2 separate regions of the Homo sapiens genome follow, and region 1 is linked to region 2. Evidence: promoter capture Hi-C in human tissues and cell types (Jung and others, 2019). All regions are on one chromosome and are shown on one strand. The core of a region is centred on a gene start or on the middle of the fragment in contact, and the rest is flanking DNA. Distances in the headings are between cores, read along the strand shown.

Region 1 (4,040 bases), core at 960-3,459, 340 kb before region 2:
TCCCCCCTCCTGTTTTTCACAGCATCTAGTATGGAGCACTTAATAAAATTTCTTGATTTGATATTGAAAATGTCATTCCAAAAGCTATTTCCTTCTTCCAGTCCCCAGAATATATACCATGACTTACAATTTGCTACTGACATCATTTTGGATCTGAGATTGAAGATATAGGAGAAAAAAGTCAACAAGTCTACTTGAGATGTCACCTCTTAGGACCCCTTCACCACTGCTCCACTGAAAATGCCTAGCTCAAGATTAAGCTAACTCTAGTCAACAGGTAATTTTCAAAGGCTACTGGACCCTCACCAATAAGGTCTACTTATGAAAGTGAGAACAGAACCTCCACTCAGTTCCTCTCTACTTCTATGTGAGTTATTTAAAAGGAGTAGTGTTGGGCAAGGGAAGGTATGCAACAACTGGTACATCCCTGGCTAAGGTATGAATCACAGCTGGAGCACCAGCCCTTAGAGAACACTACAAGTGGTTTCTATTTGCCAATGCAGAATTGAAAAATTAGAGAGCTAGAAAGAACCATATAGAGCAATCTGATCCAGTGCTCTCACTTCCCAGATGAAAGGACCAAGGTCCAGAAAAAACATGATGTGCATGAGGTCACAAAAGTTGGTCGGAAAAGCTGGAGCTACTGGTCGGAAAGCCAAGGCTACATTTCAGTCACCTCATGCTTGGTCCAGAGCTCTTTGCACAGCTGGACCCTTTAAACTTAACCTCAATAAACTCATATGAGGGTAGTGCTCATAACCACAGTCCATACACTCAAAGTGAACTGCTATGTCATATTCTTCTGGTGTAACACCTCAGAATAGTTTCTAGAAAATTAAGCTCTTAGCCATTCATGAAATCTTCATTTACTAATTTCTACCATCCATCGGATAACATCATGAAGTCTCTTTATCCCAAATCTGATCGACCTGACTGTAGGACTGTGTACCTTAATAAACCCTAGTAGTTTGAGGGATTGGAGGCTTACAAAAGAAATAAAGGAAAAAGCTGATTTTAATTTGAAGTCAAGCCAGCATGTTGCATTGCTCTCTAACTCAGAAGTGACCCCAAACAAAAGGAATTATCGATGTGTTGTCTGTCTTCACACATTCCTAACTTGCTAGTCTTCCACGAAGATCTTCCATGAAGAAGCTTAAATTTTCCTACGTAGTTTGAGTTTTATGTTTCTTTCCATTAAAGTTTCCAGCCGTTCATAGACATATTTAGTTTGGCAGAAGGTAGTGGTGACTCACGGAATGAAGAAATTTGAAGGCAAAGCTACTGAAAATGGATCTAATTTCTTTTTGGGGTAATTTGGGAGCGAGCAATTGATAATTTGTCTAATTTTCCTGGTTTCATCAGCTGCCACACTGCCAAATATATGTTCCATATGGATGCTTTGTTATTCCTGAAACATATAACAAATTTCAGCTGCGACTTTATCTAATATGGTCAAAGGGTAAGACTATTGTTGGCTCATTTTCTCATTGTTTTTGGCTGGACACCCTCAATCAATGGCTATTGAGTGAAAAAACAGGATCATATTGAAACCATTTTCAGCATGTTGCTTCCTATGGATCCAACCATTTCACTGTGAGTTTGTCAAGCACAGCAAATGTTCTCTATTAAAGGGATGACTGTGTTCTCAACATGGATGCGACTGCCAGTTAATTGCATTCACCTTATAATTCCAGTCTCTCAATTTGGTGTAGAGATGGTTTTGGCTCTCCAAAGATTCCTTCTTTTCTGCTGATTCTTACCTCCTAGTATGGAACAGATATTTGAGGATGAATTTTGAGAAGATCAATGACACACATACAATAAGCATCATTTCAGGCTTCCCTTAAGTTAGACAGTCTGTGGGCCCTGAGTCATATGAATCATAAGACTTGTGAAAGGTATTAGTGCCACAAATCTGGCTGGCATTTCTGTAGATTATCGGTGCTTTGCATGCAATTATGAAAATCTCTCTTACCAGATAAGTCAGATGGGGGTTCAGTAACATTGCACAAAAGCATCATGATGTGTAAGCTAAAGACAAAGAAAGGCTTACTTCTGGCTGGTTCTGAAGTAGACACTGGCCACTTAGTGTTTTAAAGTCATTCAGTGGATGATTGGTTTCAATGAATATAAATGATTTTGATCTCCCTCCCCAACACACATATCAAAAACAACAGTAATAATAAAGAACAGAAAAGTCTATCTCTTAGAAAAACCAGATTTGAAAACTGGCTAGGGAAAGTGTTTTGTGGCAAGAAACAATCTCTTGTATCTCTTGTTTACAACGGGCTAATTGGTTTGATTAACAAATTGTCTAAGGGGAATGTATCAATGTTGCTTAGGAAAAACAAAGCTTAGTGTGTGAAAATACACATAGACATAGAGTCTTGCTACTCAAAGAAACCTGAGGGCTTTTTAGAAATGCAGAGTCAGGGGCCCTGACCCCAAACCAATTAAATCAAAATCTGCATTTTAACCCGATACCCACAGGATTTGGATGCGTGTTAAGGTTTGAGAAGCCCCATCTAGAGAATGGCAGGAAGTAAGAGGTACTTGCTAATTCGTGGCTCACATTTGATAAGACAGAGTACAAAAAGATCAACTGTCACTGCAGATTTCAAAAATGATGTTAAGGTCAAACCTGCTTGTGGCCATTAACAATATATATGCTGATTCACTGGTATTTGGTCCAGATTCCCTCAAGTTGGTGGAACCTTTCCTCAGAGGAATGATAGAACTGCTCCAAGGATAACCCCATGGCCTGACCTTCTGTGAACTGGAAATTGGAACTTCTAATTGCTGTAGCTGCAATTTCCAAGCCCATCACTGGGGCCAGGAACTGAGCCCCAGTCCTTAAGATCTTGCCAGTTTCTTTTTCAATAGTTACATTTTTCAAGAACAGCCAAGCAAGAGTGCTTCAAAAAAAGAAAAAAATCTAATTGCATTAAGTGGACGAATGTGTGTTTTACTCATATCAAATTTCATCTTTTGTTATGCTCAGCCAGATTCTAATATTATTTCTTATGGGTCTGAGTTAATTAGTTCTATGAGGGTTCCCACTGGGATTTTAGAGAAATGGTTTTAAGGTAAGAAAAGTCTATTTTGGTCACCTATCAGAAGGTGAAGGGTAAACTTTAAAACTGCTTTTCAAAGAGATACAGCTGGCTTCGGGTCTTTACGAGGGTCATTCTGAAACTCAAGTTCCCCAGCCTGAGCCCATTAATGAAGGTCATTAATGAAGGCCTTGATATCTGAAGGGTGTGCTTCTTCAAAGGGACATTGTCCCACAGCAGGGCAGGTAAAGTGAGAGAGGACCAGTTTTTAACTTGTATTTCTTGAAATGACAATAAAAAGAAAGGGGGGCCTTTGGATTGGAGACTTAGAAAATCTTGGATTTACTCAGAACTCTACCACTAAATAACTTGGTAGATTTGATTATTAATCCCCTGGGTCTCAAAACCTGTTGCCATTGAAACAATGATACGTAAATGAACCAAGACATTCCACCTTTGAAATGTGATAATTGTGATCTCTCTTCCCAGTTTGGCAGGGAAAAAAAGTCACTAATATAGTTTTCACATTGTTTTCACACATCTTTTACTTGAACTTTAAGAACATGCCACTTCTTGTCTATATTCTTGACAAGGATAAGATAGTATTGGACTTAGACCAAAACTATATATTTGATTTGTTTAGATTTAATGCATATTATTTTAATACAGTGATATCCCTGACTCATTGGCACTCTACCCATTGAATTAATGTTGACAAGATAATCTCTAATACCTTTTCCAGAATGTTTACTGCTGTTCATGAAAATCTCTAAAATCCCTTAAGAAATCTGACGGATATGGAGATTATTGTTTGTTTCTTTGTTAGTATTCTCTCATTCCTTTTGCTGGGTGCTTTAGTAAAATGTATGGAAGTAAAATTATAGCTCTGCCCAATTTAATTGTAGAATCATCAGCTGGGCACCTGCTCTGTGTTTAGCAATACCCAAGGGAGAATGATGCCATCCCTTCAAAGAGGTTTCTTTGTGG
Region 2 (4,315 bases), core at 1,571-4,070:
CACCGTACTACATAACCAATAAAATAACTAATATTTAGGAGCTAACTTGGTGGAGATACTTTTCAAAAGCTTAATATTGATTACCTCACTCGACTGTCATAAGTGTCCAATAAGACAGGTCTGTTATTATCCTTATTTTACCTAATAACCTCCACGTCACTCAGCTTGTAAGTGGACAAACAGCATAAACTTAATATGTCTAACTCTATAAGCTGTGTTCTTAAAGCATCATGTTAAGTAACTTCTCCTGATGCACACAAAAGCCTTTCAAAATAATTTGAGGTAGTGCCAATGTTTCATATACCCAAGACTATATAAGGCATCCAATTCCTTTCTCTGAGTTTACAGACATGCCTGCTAAAAGTTTTTTTCCTACTTTAAGTACTCAAGTCTCAACATACTCACATGCCCATCATCTTATTTTGGGTATTTTCCTGTACTTATTCCATTTCCTGACTCCTTCTGCTATCCTTTTCTTCTATTTTTATGTGGCATAAACAGAATCCTAGATGTTTACTTTGGTTTGTATAATCAAGAGCAAAGATACATGCCACTTGCAATATAATTAAATTATAGACACAATCTATGATGCAACTTAAAGATACAGGTAGAAGATTAGAGATTAATTATTTACATAAATGCAAATCCTAGTAAATAGCTAAGAATTGTATTTCTCTTCAAAAAATCACCCTCATCTCTTGAAAGAAAAAAGAAAGTGAAGAACTGTCAGCTTCAGTGACATGGTCACTTTGCCTGAAATACATTTTTAGGAGTAAATTACTTACTGGTATTATTTAAAGGTAGTATTATGAGATTTGATTGCTATGAATGAAGACTCACTTGGGAATTAGGCCATTCTGAAATGTGGCTCCACCACTTACTGGCTGCGAGATCTTGGCCAAGTTACATCACCTTTCCCTGCCTCAGCTTCCTCATAATGAAAATGAAAACCCTATCCCATAGGGTTTTATGACAAGTCAACGACATAAACACAAGTAAAGCTTTTAGAACAGTGCCTGGCATGTATAAAAGCACATTAGCTATTATCATGCATTATGAGTTTCTAAGTTGTTTTGAGTTAAAAGTAAAAGAGCATTGCCTGGGCATGGTGGTTCACACTTGTAATCCCAGCACTTTGGGAAGCCGAGGCTCACCTAAGGTTAGGAGTTCGAGACCAACCTGGCCAACATGGTGAAACCCTGTCTACTAAAAATTAGCTGGGTGTGGTGGTGTGTGCCTCTAACCCCAGCTACTTGGGAGGCTGAGACAGGAGAATCGCTTGAACCAGGGAGGCGGAAGTTGCAGTGAGCCAAGATAGCACTACTGCACTCCAGCCTAGGTGACAGAGTGAGACTCTGTCTTAAAAAAAAAAAAAAAAAAAAAAAAAAGAGCATTACTATGGTGACAGAAAACCAAGAGTCTCATTCAGGGATCAGCTAATTTTTTCTAAAGGAACAAACAGTAAATATTTGAGGCATGCACAACTACTCACTTTGACCTTCTAGTGTGAAAATAGCCATGGACATACATAAACAAACAAATGAGTATAGCTGTGCTCCAATAAAACTTTTTTTATGGACACTGAAATTTGAATTTCATGTAATTTTTACACATCACAAAACATTATTCTTTTCATTTTTTCCCCCAACCATATAAACACGTAACACTCCTTCTTAGCTCAGGAGCTGGCTGCACAAAAACAGGCAGCACAGCCAGTTTGCCAACCCCTGGTCTAGTCCCAGCTCTTCCTGTAGCTAGCTGGCTGTGGGAGCCTATGCCATAAGCCTTACACGTGGTTCCTAGGTGGAGGCATCATCACACAGAAATACTTGCCTTCCAGTCCCTTGTGAGAAGTCAATGAGACAATAAATATGCAAGCACTCTGAATGGCAGGCTGCACTATACAAAAAAACAGTAGCCAAAGGCAGCAGCGATAACACTTGTTTTTAAAAAATTGGATTCCAAGTTGCTCTAGAGCAAAAACTGTGAGACAGAAAATTGTCACTGGGCAGGCAGTGTGAAATGGTTGAAAGAACTACACTTCCGAGTCAGATATCACTTCCAGGCTCCCCCTTTATGACCTGTAGTCCTTCGGTATTTAAAATCTCTAATGAGCATAAGTTTCTTCACCTGCAAAACCAGGAAGGGAATTCCTACCTCACAGAATGAGACGTTAGTGAAACAAGTACATAACCCACCTAGTGCCAGGCATTTAGTAGGTGCTCAATTTAAAAATTGCACTCAACATCATTATCAGTGTTCGAGTGCAAGTCCCAAAGGTTCCTTGGGAGGCTGTAACTAATCAGGAGTAGGAGAAAGTTGAGGAATTGGAGTCCGTGTACATAGTGGGACTAGAACCCAGGTTTCCTGCCTAACTAATGGAAGTTAAGCAGGCCTCTACGGGCCTGTCTTCCAAGCTGCAGACGAACCCTCAGGACCTACCAGCTCCATCGCTAGATACTGTGAACTCCGCCTACAGCCCCCAGGCCCAACCAGGCTCGAGCGTCAAGTCACTGCACCATAATACTTCGGTCCCACGGCACTTTGCTACGACCGAGGTATTACAGTGCAAAACACCCTCAAAAGCCACAGCCTGAATCACCACTTAAAAATGCGACAGGGCAGGTAGGGCAGACGCGAGACTTACGTGATTAGGGGTAGACCCGAAGACGTACTCTTCAGTGTGCGGAAGGATCCCCAACGGGATGCCCTCCCGCGGCCGCCGCAGTCGCCGCTGTCGCCGCTGAATACAGTTCAAACCTCGCGGGAGGCCCCGGGAGCCAATCGCTGCGCTCGCCCTCCGACCCGGAAGCAGAGCCACAGCGCGTCGCGGCAGCCCCCAAGGAAGACCAGCCTGCCTCTGGTCGGTTCCTGGCGCTCTGCGGTGCGTATCGAGCTGGGAGCCCGAGAGGCCGGGATGCTTTTCTGCCGGCCGCCCAGCCTTGCCACTCTATTCCCAGGAGTTCTTCCTTCCCACTTCGGGCCCCGGGAGGTGGGAGCGGGGTCTTGAGGAACTCGCCTGGCCCGGGGAGAGGTGTCGGCGCTCATTGCAGAGACTTATCTTGTTCCCTCCCTTCTTCTCTGCCGTTGTAGTTTTACAGGGGCAAGTCCTGTCCAACGTGTACGGTGAGGCCCCGGCCACTGCTTTAATGAGCAGTAGGTGTAGGGACGGAACAATTTCGTGACCTCGAATCTCTTGCACTTCTATACCTCTCTGTCTCCGTGTCCATAACACTTGCTGGTCACCCTTCAAAAGTCTCCAGTCCCTGATGTCCATTCCTAAAGTTACTAGTTTATAAGCGTCTCGAGGTGGGACTCATTCTCAGTACATACTCTTAAGGTGCTTGATATGTTTGTTACTGAGTCCAGCTGTTTTCAGGACAACCCTTGTGTCGAATTTTTTAAAAAACCAAAAACTCTAAAACCCATAATTCTCATGTGGGAATGCTACTTCCAGAATGCACACTAGTCCCTGACAGGTTAAGGTCTTCTGCCTAGTTTTAAGAATATTATTATTTTAATTTTTAAGTTCCGGGATACGTGTGCGGGACGTGCAGGTTTATTACAAAGGTAAAACGTGTGCTATGGTGGTTTGCACACCCATCACCTAGGTATTAAGCTCCACATGCATTAGCTATTTATCCTGATGCTCTCCCTCCGCCCAACCCCCTGAACATTATTTTTATATCACACATTTTGGTACTCCTTAACAACAGATCCTGTATTTTCTATCTGTTTATATTATAGCCCTTTTCACGTTGAGTCATAACTATCCCTAAACTGTGGTCTCCTTCAAGCCAGGAGGCTGTTTTTTTCTTCATTAGCGCTGGTTCTCCACACACAATGAAGTCTTCCAAATCCTGGCCCTGCTTATGAGCTTGGCAAGTTAGTTAACCTACTGAAGCCTCAGTTTCTCCATCTACAAAATGGAGACCAGAGGTAGTACCTGCCTTTAGATTTGTACAGATACCAGATGTGATCATGTCAGTAAAATGCTTAATATGGTACCTACAAATAGTGGTTCATAAAAGTTATTAATTTTTATTAACATTTGCTGTTAAAATGATTCCATCTTCAGATGAAATACTATTTGTTTTAGATAATCTAAACAGAACTTTGCAGTGTTATTGTCTGCTAGAATCACAGATATGGGAAAGAGCTGTGGAGCAAATGTGGAACCATTAATAACTAGATTTAATATTTTTCCTGCAGTTTCTGTCCCTTGATAAGTACTTTAAATGTTTCTTTTGAGCTTTCTGTCTCATTGTAACACCACAACCTTATTTTGATGCATTTGCTGAATGACTAACATATT

The links. Contacts are between HindIII fragments. The study calls those that stand out against the background at their distance.
Region 1: a fragment that was not itself captured here is called in contact with the fragment with the promoter of NUP37 in region 2 in 1 of the 25 tissues and cell types used here (aorta).

The regions. Positions count from the first base shown.
Region 1 is chr12:102,460,451-102,464,490 of GRCh38, reverse strand. All of the region lies in intron 2 of IGF1 (insulin like growth factor 1), which reads left to right. It overlaps LINC02456 (long intergenic non-protein coding RNA 2456), which reads right to left. Exons shown (of 13, transcript XR_007063427.1): 11 at 1-4,040. Among named protein-coding and RNA genes, the nearest start is that of IGF1, 18 kb to the left of the region's middle. The HindIII fragment of the contact is 4,961 bases long and covers 1-4,040 here.
Region 2 is chr12:102,118,619-102,122,933 of GRCh38, reverse strand. It overlaps NUP37 (nucleoporin 37), which reads left to right and starts at 2,820. Exons shown (of 10, transcript NM_024057.4): 1 at 2,820-2,884. It overlaps PARPBP (PARP1 binding protein), which reads right to left and starts at 2,751. Exons shown (of 11, transcript NM_017915.5): 1 at 2,648-2,751. RefSeq lists enhancers at 1,348-1,905, 2,950-3,019. The HindIII fragment of the contact is 7,473 bases long and covers 536-4,315 here.